3 separate regions of the Homo sapiens genome follow, and all the other regions are linked to region 3. The links are contacts of gene promoters, found by promoter capture Hi-C in human tissues and cell types (Jung and others, 2019). All regions are on one chromosome and are shown on one strand. The core of a region is centred on a gene start or on the middle of the fragment in contact, and the rest is flanking DNA. Distances in the headings are between cores, read along the strand shown. Region 1 overlaps LOC122539214 (Zinc finger protein LOC122539214). Region 2 overlaps ZNF765-ZNF761 (ZNF765-ZNF761 readthrough). Region 3 holds the start of ZNF347 (zinc finger protein 347).

The links. Contacts are between HindIII fragments. The study calls those that stand out against the background at their distance.
Region 1: a contact is called between a fragment that was not itself captured here and the fragment with the promoter of ZNF347 in region 3, in 1 of the 25 tissues and cell types used here (aorta).
Region 2: a contact is called between a fragment that was not itself captured here and the fragment with the promoter of ZNF347 in region 3, in 3 of the 25 tissues and cell types used here (hippocampus, mesenchymal stem cells and pancreas).

What each region holds. Positions count from the first base shown.
Region 1 is chr19:52,656,118-52,661,087 of GRCh38, forward strand. LOC122539214 (Zinc finger protein LOC122539214) reads right to left here. Exons shown (of 4, transcript NM_001396016.1): 2 at 4,645-4,726. The coding sequence starts at 4,707. It also overlaps a transcript of ZNF83 not described here. Among named protein-coding and RNA genes, the nearest start is that of ZNF83, 20 kb to the left of the region's middle. The HindIII fragment of the contact is 3,021 bases long and covers 781-3,801 here.
Region 2 is chr19:53,455,932-53,460,519 of GRCh38, forward strand. ZNF765-ZNF761 (ZNF765-ZNF761 readthrough) reads left to right here. Exons shown (of 13, transcript NM_001350496.2): 13 at 1-2,330. The coding sequence ends at 817. ZNF761 (zinc finger protein 761) reads left to right here. Exons shown (of 5, transcript NM_001289951.2): 5 at 1-2,330. The coding sequence ends at 817. Among named protein-coding and RNA genes, the nearest start is that of ZNF813, 9.5 kb to the right of the region's middle. The HindIII fragment of the contact is 5,248 bases long and covers 1-4,097 here.
Region 3 is chr19:53,156,296-53,161,136 of GRCh38, forward strand. It overlaps ZNF347 (zinc finger protein 347), which reads right to left and starts at 2,758. Exons shown (of 5, transcript NM_032584.3): 1 at 2,714-2,758. RefSeq lists an enhancer at 2,661-2,955 and a silencer at 2,691-2,940. The HindIII fragment of the contact is 7,458 bases long and covers 1-4,841 here.

The sequences.
Region 1 (4,970 bases), core at 1,041-3,540, 500 kb before region 3:
TAGGAGTATAGCTTGAGCTCCAGAGGCAAAGGTTGCGGTGAGCTGAGATTGTGCCACTGCAATTCAGCTTGGGCTGCAGAGTGAGACTCCGTCTCTCTCTCTCTCTCTCTATATATATATATAGCCAGGCATGGGGGCTCACACCTATAATCCTGTCACTTTGGGATACCAAGGTAGGTGGATCACTTAAGGTCAGGAGTTTGAGACCAACCTGGGCTACATTGTGAAACCCCATATCTACTAAAAATAGAAAAATTAGCTGGGCATGGTGGGGGAATGTGCCTGTAATCCCAGCTATTTGGGAAGCCGAGGCAGGGGAATTGCTTCAACTCTGGAGGCAGAGGTTGTGGTAAGCTGAGATGACAGCACTGCACTCCAGCCAGGGCAACAGAGCAAGTCTTTCTCAAAATAAAAATATATGTATGTATATATTGCAAATAATGTGTTTTCTACTAAAACCATGGGCTTGGCTTGGCATGGTGGCTCACACCTATAATCCGAACACTTATGGAGGCTGAGGCATGTGGATCACAAAGTCAAGAGATTAAGACAAGCTGGGCCAACATGCTGAAACACTGACACTATTAAAAACACAAAAATTAGCTTGGTATGGTGGTGTGCGCCTGTAGCCCCAGCTACTCAGGAGGCTGAGGCAGAAGAATCACTTGAACTCGGGAGGCTGAGGTTGCAGTGAGCTGAGATAGTGCCATTTCATTCCAGCCTATCGACAGAGCGAGACTCCGTCTCAAAAAAAAAAAAAAAAAAAAAATCATGGGCTTCTCCATTAATGCTCTCCTGGACACATTGCAAATCACACCTACACACACTTCAATTAACTTCAGTCGGGACATTATAAGCAAAGACCTAGAGAGGACACATCCACAGCTACTCACGAGGCTGAGGTGGGAGGATTGCTTGAGCCTGGAGAGCAGAGTTTGAAGTGATCCAAGATTGCACCACTGCACTCCAGCCTGGGGGACACAGCGAGACCCTATCACCCCCACCCTCCCAAAAGTTGGAAGCTCATTGAATTAAGAGACAACTTCAAGAAATCATAAATGCAATGCATGAAGAAAATGAGAAGGTCAGCCAACATACAGAAATTACGAAGAACTACACAGAAACTCTCGGGCTAAAAATACAGTAACTAAATGGAAAAACTCAATACATGGGTTCAAAATCAGAATACATTATGTAAATTAAAAATTAGTGAAAAGGGGACAGGTGAGGTAGCTCATATCAGGAATTTGGGAGGCTGAGGTGGGTAGATCACTTGAGGTCAGCAGTTCGGAGACCAGCCTCATCAATATGGTGAAACTTTGTCTCTACTAAAAATACAAAGATTAGCTGGGTGTAGTGGTGGGCTCCCCACTGCACTCCAGCCTGGGTGACAGAGTGAGACTGTCTCAAAAAATAATAAAATAATTTTTTAAAAAAGGCCAGGCATGGGCCAGGCACAGTAGCTCATGCCTGTAATCCCAGCACTTTGGGATGCCAAGGCAGGCGGATCACCTGAGGTCAGGAATTCGCGACCAGCCTGACCAACATAGAGAAACCCCGTCTCTACTAAAAATACAAAATTAGCCAGATGTGGTGGTGCATGCTTGTAATCTCAGTTACTTAGGAGGCTGAGGCAGGAGAATCGCTTGAACCTGGGAGGTGGAGGTTGCAGTGAGCCGAGATTGCATCATTGCACTCCAGCCTGGGCAACAAGAGAAAAACTCTGTCTAAAAAAAAAAACAGGCATGGTGGCTCATGACTGTAATCCTAGCACTTTGGGAGGCCAAGGCGGGGGGATCACCTGAGGTTGGTAGCTCAAGACCAGCCTGATCAACATAGAGAAACTCTGTCTCTACTAAAAATACAAAATTAGCCGGGTATGGTGATGCATGCCTGTAATCCCGGCTATTCAAAAGGCTAAGGCAGGAGAATTGCTTTAACCATGAAAGCGGAGGTTGCAATGAGCCAAGTTCATGCCATTGCACTCCACCCTCGGCAACCAGAGTGAAACTTCATCTCAAAAAAAAAAAAAAAAAGTAGTGAATAGGAAAAGAAACAACAACAAAGAATAAAGAAAAATGAAGGGAGTCTAAACAGACTAACAGGACACCATCAAGGACACCATCCTACACATTATGAAAGTCCCAGGCCAGGTTCTGGCTCATGCCTGTAATTTCAGCACTCACGCCTGTAATTCCAGCACTTTGGGAAGCCAGGGTGTGGGGATCACCTGAGGTCAGAAGTTCATGACCGGCCTGGCCAACATGGTGAAATTTCATCTCTACCAAAAATACAACAATTAGCCAGGTGTGGTGGTGCGCACCTGTAACCTCAGTTACTTGGGAAGCTGAGGTGAGAGAATCGCTTGAATCCAGAGGCAGAGGCTGGAGTAAGCCGAGATTGCACCACTGCACTCCAGCCTGGGTGACAGTGTTGGGATTTACTCAAGATAGGGGCAGAAATATTAAAGAGAAATATTAGGGAAAGTTATAGGGAATAGTCACAAACCTTTTGGAAGGCCGAAAGGTTATATAGCTTGTAATAATTGAACAGGCTGAAGGCACCCGGTTCTTACCTTAGAGCATTAGGTCATAGGGTAAATACTAGGGACAATAGAGGCTTCCCCAGTTAAGCCTGTTTACCCTACCTCCATTAACTAACCTTTGAGCCAGATGGCCCTCTAGCGGGAGGCTGACCAGGGAAATTGCCCCTTAATGGTATTTACTTCAGATCACAGTACCTGAGCTTTAATCATTCATGAAACTACTCTCTTAACCATGCTAATTATCCTCAAGTGTGTTTACTCAAACTTCTGTTGTTAATTCTATTCTAAATAAATGCCTGGAGTGCGAGCTGCTCAGGGCCGGCTCTTGGTGTGCAGGCGATTGGGCACCCAGCAGGACTGGCAAAGCAGAATATCTATGTGTCGGTGTACGTTTCATTCATCCGTCTGGGCCAGGGTCCGTGGGCAGACCCCCGCAGCTAATGCCCTCTTGTGAGGAGCAATACCTCAGTTGATGTCCTGTGTGAGGAAAGTCAGGGATCTGCAGAAACAGACCCCCCACAGTTCAAGCCTCTCTTGAGGCAACCTGTGAAGGAAGCGTGAGGACCGCCCTCTTGAGGAAAGCTGCGATGGAAGCATGAGGAACGCGACCCCCGAAAACAAAGGCAAAGAAGGATTTCGTGGTCAAGCCAGTGAGTAATCAGTAAGTCATTGGTGCCCACTCGAGGTTACCACCTTCTGGGGGAAGTTGAGTCAAGCTAAGGTTTCATCACGGGACAATAGTTGTCAGCTCAACAGAAACGGTATATAAAAATGTTCAGACAGTTGCTTAAGGCTACTGGTCGGAAACACAGCAGAACTAGCAAAACGGAATTATCTGTGTGTCAGTGTATGTTTTATTCATATGTGGTTTAGGTCAGGGTTGACATGCAGATCCCACAGCTAATGCTCTCTTGTGAGGAGCAATACCTCAACAGAGCAAGACTCCAACTCAAAAAAAAAAAAAAGAGTACCAGAAGTCACAGAAGTGAGTGAGAAGAAGAAAGGAACAGAAAAGCTTGTTGGAAGGCATAATGGCAAAAATTTCTAATTTCAGGATGCAAAAGAAACAAATTCAACACCTTAAGAATATCCAACATGGATAAATCTAAGTAAGAGACCTATAACAAACAACATCATAATAAAACTGTCAAAATTCAGAGATAGAGAAAGAATCCTAACAACAGCCAAAAGAAGAGCTAACTCTCACCCAAGAGGGAGCTCCTGTAATATTATCAAGATATTTCTCGGCTGGGTGGGCGGTAACTCACGCCTGTAATCCCACGACCTTGGGAGGCTGAGGCGGGCAGATCATGAGGTCAGGAGTTCGAGACCAGTCTGGCCAACATAGTGAAACCCATCTCTACTAAAAATACAAAAAATTAGCGGGGTGTGGTGGTGTGCGACTGTAATCCCAGCTACTCAGGAGGCTGAGGCAGGAGAATTGCGGTGGTAAGACCATGGTGGTAAGAATCATGGTGGTAAGACCACAGTAGTAAGCTTTGCTTAAGTGAGTGGGAAATTTTGCATAGTCTTAGTCAGAGAGGGCACCTCTGCAGCTGGGGGTAGGGATGGAATCTTCCCACATCTAAAAGAGGAAATGGCAAATCCAAGAAGAAGCAATCAGTTTTCAATGCCCCAACTTGCAGGAAACTTCCAGATATCTGCAGTGAAGTCACCATGCTCACAGGCAGCCAGTGTGTTATTCTTAGCAACAGTGAAAAACTGTCAAGGAGATTAAGTGAAGTCAGGGATTTGAGACCAGCCTGGCCAACATGGTGAAATCCTGTCTCTATTAAAAATACAAAATTAGCCCAGAGTGGTGGTGGACACCTATAATCACAGCTGCTTGGGATGCTGAGGCATGAGAATCTCTTGACCCTGGGAGGTGGAGGTTACAGTGATCCCAGATTGCTCCAGTGAACTCCAGCCTGGGCAATAAAGGGAGATAGAATTTAAGATGACGGGGACTGAGAAAAGCCTTGGGTGAGTGCGAGCAAACTTGTGACGCAGGACGCTTCAGACTCACGGAAGTCTGCCTACTACAATACCTGGTATATCAGAAAAGAGAGAGAAGAATCCACTGAGGAATATCACTTTACCTGAGGAAGAGCCATCCTTGTCTCCTTTTCTTTGGTCTTCTTGGTGGCTTTCTCATGTAACATGAGTCTTTGGAAATTAATTCTGTGTGAGAAAAAAATATGATATTTAATTAATTTTTTTTGAGATGGAGTCCAGCTCTGTCACCATGATGGGGTTCAGTGACATGATCTCGTCTCACTGCAACCTCTGCCTCCCCAGTTCAAGGAATTCTCTTGCCTCAGTGTACCAAGTAGCTGGGATTCAAGCCATACTCCACGATGCACAGCTAATTTTTGTATTTTTAGTAGACATGGGGTTTCATCATGTTGGCCAGGAGAGTCTCAAT
Region 2 (4,588 bases), core at 224-2,723, 300 kb after region 3:
CCGTTTCAAATCAAACCTTGAAAGACATAGGAGAATTCATACTGGAGAGAAACCATACAAGTGTAATGAGTGTGGCAAGACCTTTAGTCGGAAGTCATACCTCACATGCCATCATAGACTTCATACTGGAGAGAAAGCTTACAAGTGTAATGAGTGCGGCAAGACCTTTAGTTGGAAGTCATCCCTTACCTGCCATCGTAGACTTCATTCTGGAGAGAAACCTTACAAGTGTAAGGAGTGTGGCAAGACCTTCAATCAGCAGTTAACCCTTAAACGCCATCGTAGACTTCATAGTGGAGAGAACCCTTACAAATGTGAAGATAGTGACAAAGCTTACAGTTTCAAATCAAACCTTGAAATACATCAGAAAATTCATACTGAAGAGAATCCTTACAAGTGTAATGAGTGTGGCAAGACCTTCAGTCGGACGTCATCCCTTACATGCCATCGTAGACTTCATACCGGAGAGAAACCTTACAAATGTGAAGAATGTGACAAAGCTTTCCGTGTGAAATCAAACCTTGAAGGACATAGGAGAATTCATACTGGAGAGAAACCTTACAAGTGTAATGAGTGTGGCAAGACCTTTAGTCGGAAGTCATATTTTATATGCCATCATAGACTTCATACTGGAGAGAAACCTTATAAGTGTAATGAGTGTGGCAAGAACTTTAGTCAGAAGTCATCCCTTATATGCCACCATAGACTTCATACTGGAGAGAAACCTTACAAGTGTAATGAGTGTGGCAAGACCTTTAGTCAGAAGTCAAACCTTACATGCCATCGTAGACTTCATACTGGAGAAAAACAAGTGTAATGAATGTGGTGAGGTTTTTAATCAACAAGCACACCTTGCAGGTCATCATAGAATTCATACTGGGGAGAAACCTTAGAAATGTGAAGCATGTGATAAAGTTTACAGTGGCAAATCAAGCCTCAGAAGACAGGAGAATTCATACTGGAGAGAAAGCTTATAAATGTGAAGAATGTCACAAAGTTTACAGTCGCACATCAAACCGTGAAAGACAGGAGAATTCATACTGGAGAGAAACCATAAAAATGTAAGAGTTTGTGACAAGGCTTTTGGGCATGATTCGCACCTGGCACAACATGCTAGAATTCACACTGGAGAGAAACCTTACCAGTGTAATGAGTGTGGCAAAGCCTTTAGTAGGCAGTCAACACTTGTTTACCGTCAGGCAATCCATGGTGTAGGGAAACTTTACTAAGGTAATGATTGTCACAAAGTCTTCAGTAATGCTACAACCATTGTGAATCACTGGAGAATCCATAAGGAAGAGAGATCATACTAGGGTAATAAATGTGGCAGATTTTTCAGACATTGTTCATACCTTGCAGTTCATCGGTGAACTCAACGCTGGAGAGAAACCTTACAAATGTCATGACTGTGGCAAGGTCTTCAGTCAAGCTTCATCCTATGCAAAACATAGGAGAATTCATACAGGAGAGAAACCTCACATGTGTGATGATAGTGGCAAAGCCTTCACTTCACACCTCATGAGACATCAGAGAATGCATACTGGACAGAAATCTTACAAATGTCATCAATGTGCCAAGGTCTTCAGTCTGAGTTCACTCCTTGCAGAATATGAGAAAATTCATTTTGGAGGTAGTTGGTCCATATGCAATGAGTAGAGCAAACCATCAAGCATTAATTGACATTAGGGTCAATTCAGCATTGACTTGAGTTTGTATTGACTTAACATTGAGTTCAAGCATTAATTGACATTAGTGTTTATGTTAAGAGGATTGGGCCAGGCACATCAGCTTACACCTGTAATCTGAGCGCTTTGGGAGGCCAAGGTGGGTAGATCACTTGAGGTCAGGAGTTTGAGATCAGCCTGGCCAACAGACGTGAGCCATTTTCCCAGCCTGTTTTTTGTTTCTTTAAAAAAACTGATAGGGATTTTTATGGATATCATGTTGAATCTAAATCACATTGGGTTATTATATAATCATTTCACAATATTAATTTTTCCAAGCTATCAATATGGGTTGTAGCTCAATGTTTTTAATCATTTTGATCAATGTTTGTAGATTTCAAGGTACAAACTTCTGACCTTTGTACGTTTATTTCTAAGTATTTCTTTAAGTTCTCCAGCAAATGGAAGTGTTTTAAAATTTTCTTTTAAAATTGTTTATTGTTAAAGTATGGAAATTCAACTAATTTTTGGTGCTGATACTGTATTGTGCAAATCCACTGACTATGTTACTTAGTTCCAGTAGTATTTTGGTTGGCTCTTTGTGATTTTCTACACAGAAGATTATGTCATCTACAAACAAATATAATTTTACTTCTTACTTTCTGATTTGGATGAGTTTTATTTCCTCTGCTATTTCATTGCTCTGGCTGGGACAGCCAGTATTGATTGAATAGAAGGGGTGAGAGCATTCTTGCATCATGTGAGAGCCTCCAGGAAAGGCATTACATTTTCCCTGCTTGACTGTTTACTCATTGGTCATTTCATGGACGGTCTTTCTATTGTTGAGGTAAATTTCCTTTTCTGTCTATTTTGTTTAGGATTTCTATGATGACTGGATTTTGAATTTTGTGAAATGCTTTTTCTCTATTAAGATGATGTGGTTTTCATCTTTTGTTCTGTTCAAGTGGTATATCACATTGATTTGCTTGAATATGTTGAACCATCCTTGCATCCCAGAAATAAGTGGCACTTGAATATCTACATTTTTTTAATGTCCTCTTGAATACAGTTTTCTAGTACAATGGATCTTGAAGAAGTTCATGGAAAAATACCTATTATGAGAAAATTTGCATGAATTTTAGTTTTTGCAACAAAACACTGGTACAAGTCTGTTATGTCTGAACAGGCTGTAGTTTAAGGCACTCAGAAGGATAAGACATGAGTTTGAAAAGAGACTCTATCAAAGCAATATAAATTCTGCTAAAATTGAAACAAGAAGAAACATCAAATTTACGATGAGATCAGATGCAGTGTCTCAGGTCTATAATCCCAGCACTTTCAGAGGCCATGACAGGTGGGTCACATGAGCCCAGGTATTCAAGACGAGCCTGGGCAACATGGTGAAACCCCCTTGTCTACAAAAAATACAAAAATTAGCTGGGCATGGTGGCATCTGACTGCAGGGCCAGCTACTGTGGAGTCTGTGGTGGAGGATGGCTTGAGCCTGGGAGGTCGAGGCTGCAGTGAGCTGTGGTCATGCCACTGCACTCCAGCGTGGGTGATGGAGTGAGATACTGTCTCAATAAAAGAATAATTATGGGCCGGGCGGCGTGGCTCAATCCTGTAATCCCAGCACTTTGGGAGGCTGAGGCGGGTGGATCATGAGGTCAGGAGATTGAGACCATCCTGGCTAACACGGTGAAATCCCGTCTCTACTAAAAATACAAAAAAAAAAAAAAATTAGCCGGGCATGCTGGAGGGTGCCTGTAGTCCCAGCTACTCAGGGAGGCTGAGGCAGGAGAACGGCATGAACCCGGGAGGCAGAACTTGCAGTGAGCCGAGATCATGCCACTGCACTCCAGCCTGGGGGACAGAGTGAGACTCCGTCTCAAAAAAACAACAACAGCAACAACAAAATTATGGTAAAGTTTGGGAAGAGGAATAATGGAATCATTGATACTTTATGAAAAGGTTATGGAGATGATGCCCAAAAGAAATAAACCATTTGTAAATGGATAACTCATTTCGAATTGGGACAAGACAGTGTTGAAGGTGATGCTAGGAGCGGCAGGCAGATCACATCAGTTTTTTGTTTTGTTTGTTTGTTTGCTTTGAGGCAGTGTCTCGATCTGTTGCCCAAAAGCTACGTAGAGGCCAGGCGCAATGGCTCATGACTGTAATCCCAGCACTTTGGGAGGTGGAGACAGGCAAATCACCTTAGGTCGGGAGTTCAAGACCAGCCTGACCAATATGGCGATACCCTGTCTCTACTAAAAATACAAAATGAGCCAGGTGTGGTGGCGCATGCCTGTAATCCCAGCTACTCGGGAGGCTGAGACAGCGAAGGGGACCTGCCCCTCCACATCTGTGGGTATTCCTCATCAGATGAGAGACTGAGAAAAGAAATAAGACACAGAGACAAAGTATAAAGAAAGAACAGTGGGCCCAGGAGACTGGCGCTCAACATGCGAGGACCCGCACTGGCGCTGGTCTGAGTTCCCTTAGTATTTATTGATCACTATTTTTACTATCTTGGCGAGGGGAGTGCGGCAGGGCAACGGGGTGACGGTAGGGAGAAGGTCAGCAGGGAAACAAGTGAGCAAAGGAATCTGTATCATGAATAAGTTCAAGGAAAGGTACTGTGGATGTGCACGTAGGCTAGATTTATGTTTCACTTTACACAAACATCTCAGTGTAGCAAAGAGTCACAGAGCAGTATTGCTGCCAGCATATCGCCTCCAGCCATAGGGCAGTTTTCTCCTATCTCAGAATAGAACGAATGGTCGGCTTTACACTGAGACATTCCATTCCCAGGGATGAGCAGGAGACAGAAGTCTTCCTCTTATCTCAACTGCAAAGAGGCCTCCCTCTTTCACTACTCCTCCTCAGCACAGACCCTTTACAGGTGTCAGGCTGGGGGATGG
Region 3 (4,841 bases), core at 1,508-4,007:
GGCTGAGGCAGGCAGGAGAATCGCTTGAACTCGGGAGGCAGAGGCTGCCTTGAGCCAAGATTGCGCCACTGCACTCCAGCCTGGACAACAGAGCGAGACTGTTTCAAAAAGAAAAAAAAAAAAAGACTGCATGACGAGGTGCTACAGGTTCAGAGCTCAGTCTAAAACTGCCCCTCACTTCAGACACAGTATGCCAGTGGTAACTGTCACTTATACTTTTGAGTGACCTGATAAATACTGTGGTTCTCTTAACCCCTCCTCGGCTTTGATTAACTTTCTAGGACAGCTCTTCCTTCTGACTGTTCATCTGTATCTTCTGTAATATCCTTCATAACAAATGTGTAAACTAAGTGAAGTGTTTTCCCTGAGTTCTTTGAGCCGCCCTCACAAATTAATAGAACCTGAGGTGGTGGGGAGGGGGATGTCAAGGGAATCCCCAGTGTATAGCTGGTCGCTCAGAAGTTCAGGTACCAACGGGAGACTTACAACTGGCACCTGATGCGGGGGCAATTTCGTGGAACTGAGCCTCAATCAGTGGGATCTGATGCTAACTCCAGGTAGAGAGTTTCAGAATTGAGTTAAACTATACGACACTCAGTTAGTGTCTGATAGAGAACGGGTTGTTGGTGGGAGAAATCCGCACACATTTTCGTGAGTGGAGGCGAGACACTGTGTAGAATGTGCCCTGTTGTATTGAGTGTGACAGGAAAGAAAATCAAAGGAAAAATATTTTTTCCTCTTAGTTCATACACTCGCCCACACCCTACCCTATTCCAGGAAAAGGGAAGTGGGTGGACTCAAAACTAAATGAGCGAAGTCACTGCCCTCTGGTTTGAATAGTGATTGCAAATGAAGCTATACCCTAATACTAATAATTGTCAAATGCACGTGTTACGCATTTTACATAAAGGAGTTTCTTCCATTCTCATTTGCAACTGCATAATTTAAGTAAACGTATTTTAAATGTGTTGCATTATTTTAAACCCAGAAACCAATGTCACAATGTCATCATCACATCTAATCAACGCACCACTCACCTGGACTCAGGGTCCCTCTCTTGCTTCCATACTGTGTGTTTCCCTCCCTCATCCTCTACATAGCTCTCATTCTCACATTAGCTTATTTTTTATTTTCTGTGTTTTTCCCCTGGTTCTTTGCGCGTCGTTCTGAGCCCCTCTCATCTCCTGCTATTTCTCCCCTTCTTCCTCCGCTTGCACCTGTTCTGTCCCATTCTGGGGCCTTGTTTCAACTCTGATTCCTCTTTCTCCCCAGTCTTTTCATTGTCCCCAGTCTCCATATATTTCTGCCTCTTTCTTCTCCCATCTCTGCTCCCTCTGTTGAATCTCCTCTTCCCTTCTACACCTCTTGCCCCACTCTCTGGCACCCCCAGATCCCAGGCCTCCCCCTGCTGTGGTTCTCCTTCTGCTCTCCTCGTCACCGGCTGTCCCCTCTTGCTGTCCCAGCACCACGCTGCTTGTCTGCCCTGGCTCCAAATCCCTCCTCCTCTCCCGGACTCTGTCTGAGGAGCCTCCCACTTTCTGGCCCTCTCCCTACCTTGCTGTCCTTCATGTCTCTGGACATCGAGCTTTTCTCTACATTTCCCCAGTTGCTTTTCTCCTTCTGCCTTCTCAGCTCCTTCTCTTACCATCTGCAAATCCCTCGCCCATCCTCTACTTTGCCATCTGGTTACGGGTTTCCCTCACTCTTTCCTCTCAGTTTTTCTACTTCTCTCTCTGTCTCTGCCCCTTTCTCTACCTGCTAATCCCCTTGGTCCACACATTCACAGGAAGGTTTGGACTAAGACGCCTGCATCTTGGAGGAGCGCATTTTCCAGGGGCTGGAGCTGGGCAGGCAAGAACACCGGGTGTCACAGGACAGGCCCCGGGCACCTCCCCAGCGCGGGCTCAGGAGAAGCGGGGACTGCGAAGGGGAGGCCTGGGGAGCAGCAGGGCCCGGCACGAGGAGGAGGGAGGTGGCGGGGCGACGGCGCCTTAGAAGAGGGGTGGGGTCTGCAGGATGCCAGGACCAGGCAGAGGACGCGGCCTCGCCGGTACCGGGGCTGAGGAGCTGCGCTCCAGGGGCCGACGAGGGCGAGGCTGGGAGGCACCCAGGGCGGGAATCCACCTCGCGGGCGAGGACTTTAAAAAGCCCGGGGCGGGAGGAGGGGTCAGGAAAGGGTTTTAAGCGGGAGGAAGACGCGAAAGGCCGGGGACAGGGAGAAGCCTCAGAGCTACTTCAACCCAAAGAGAAGCGACTCCGAACCCACACCGCGAGTCAGCTGGGGTGGAGGGCGCGGTGCGGGGATCTTAAGGTCTGTAGCTGCCGGGCGCAGTGGCTCACGCTTGTAACCCCAGCACTTTGGGAGGCCGAGGCGGGCGGATTACCTGAGGTCAGGAGTTCGAGATCAGCCTGGGCAACACGGTGAAACCCCGTCTCTACTAAAAATACAAAATTAGCCGGGCGTGGTGGCACATGCCTGTAATCCCAGCTACTCGGGAGGCTGAGGCAGGAGAATCGCTTGAACCTGGGAGGCGGAGGATGCGGTGAGCCGAAATCGCGCCATTGCACTCCAGCCTGGACAACAAGAGTAAATCTCCGTCTCACCAAAAAAAAAAAAAAAGAAAAAAAAAAAGGTCTGTAGCGAGCCCGGGAACTGGCTGCGGAAACGGGGCACGGCGGTTCGCAAGTTTAATCCATACTGAGGGACACTCACGCTCGGCGGCGTCACCCGCACCCAACACGATCCGCTTCCGGAACTGCAGAAAACTGCGCGTGCGCGGAAAAGAGCCCGGGCACTCTGGGGGCGGGGCCTGGGGAGAGGCGGGGTCTGCGGACGAAACGCTGGGGCGGAGCTGGGGCGGGGTCTGCGCTTCCCTCAGCCTGCCTAGCCCGCAGTCTCATTTTTCCCGGTTTAGAAACGCTGGAGTGTTCACTATGTCCCCGGGAGCACCGTTCCAATTTGAAGCAGTTTTAAGGTGAAAGAATAGACTTACGTGGACCACTTATGATAGAAACCAAAATGATTTCCTCTTACCAAGTTGAAAACGGTTTATGTTAAAATTGTTTGCCGGCGGGTTGGACCCAGTCCTGCTAGGGAGTCTGCTGCAGCTCAGGAACGGGGATCTGGGAATCGGGGATCTCGGTCTGGGAACTGGGATCTTAGTGGAGGATCCACGAGGCACGGCGATTGGATCCAGCAATTCCTGCAATTAAAATGTATTTAATTTAACTAAAATGTCTGGAAATTATCTCTGAGGATGATTCAAAGTAGAATGGGAAATGCAGCATCCTACCTGGACGGATATGCAATTTAATGCAGTAGCCCAACAGAACCTCCTTTACATTTCAAATCCCCATTCTCCCCAGTGGAAGAGTCAAGCCTGTGCTCAATTCATGGGAAGGTTAAGGCCGATAAGTTAGATCACCAAGGGCTGCTTTATTGTTCTTTAAAACATATATTTTTGTAAAGATGGGAGTCTCGGCCCAGGCTGGTCTCCAACTCTTGACCTCAAGCAATCCTCCTGCCTGGGCCTCCAAAATTGCTGGGATTACAGGAGTGAACTACTGTGCCCAGTCAACTACTGATTTAAACCATGTGAATTTTTAAAAAATAGAGATAAACTGCATTATTTTTGCTTATATTCGTTATTCCGTTCCACACTTGAAATGACTTAACCACAAACAACTTTGACATAATCTTTCTTTGCATCAAAATATGCTTAAATCAATAATTTCTAAATATCATGTAATTTCAAATTCACTTTATGGGCATTCTGAAGGGAACTTGACACAGTACTTTTTATTTTAAAATTGTAATCTATATTGGGTCTATTTTTTTGTTTTCTGTTTCTTAATGTTCTATCAGATGTGGATAACAGAGTGTGGAAAATAGTCACCACATGACAATTGGATTTATTTTCGCCTAAAGAATAGTTTTCCAGTATTTCTAACGTACCATCCCAGTACATTGACTGAACTAAAGACTCACAGGGATACCCTTTTTTCATGTTTATAGAGAACCTAGTTTATACCTGCTATTGTCTTATGTACATTTTCATGTCACACAATTTTATCTCCAAACAACACCCTTATTTATATACACCGTATAGTTTTCACTTTAACAAAATATTAAACGTTTCATCTGGGTTACAATATATGAAAGAAAAAAATAAAAGGGAAAATCATATTAAAAAATAAAAAGTAATTTTACTACAATTGAACATAAACCATGAAATATATTGCTCAATACCATAAACTGAAAATAACATTTCCATAGCCTTTGGAGAAATGCCCTTCCAGTAAAACTGCTTAATCATATTTATTATGTAAGAAACTTTTCCACAGATTTTCACTGAGTTAGTATAAAAACATCTTAGGCATTATAACTAAACAGGATTTCAAAAACATTTTCAACAGTTGTGTTATTTTTAATGAGTCCTATGGGTACAGCGGAAGAATAAATGTAGAATATTACTATCAAGAAAACTAGGGCAGGGCGTGGTGGCTCACACCTGTAATCCCAGCACTTTGGGAGGCAGAGGCGGGTGGATCACTTGAGGTCAGGAGTTCGAGACCAGCCTGGCCAACATGGTGAAACTGTCTCTACTAAAAATACAAAAATTAGCCAGGCGTGGTGGCACATGCCTGTAGTCCCAGCTACTTGGGAGGCTGAGGCAGGAGAATCACTTGAACCTGGGAGGTGGAGGTTGCAGTGAGCCGAGATCACGCCACTGCATTCCAGCCCCGGTGACAGAGCAAGCCTCCGTCTCAAAAAACAAAACAAAACAAACAAACAAAAAAGAAAACTGGGGTCTTCCCAAACCAAGAATTCAGAACTTTCC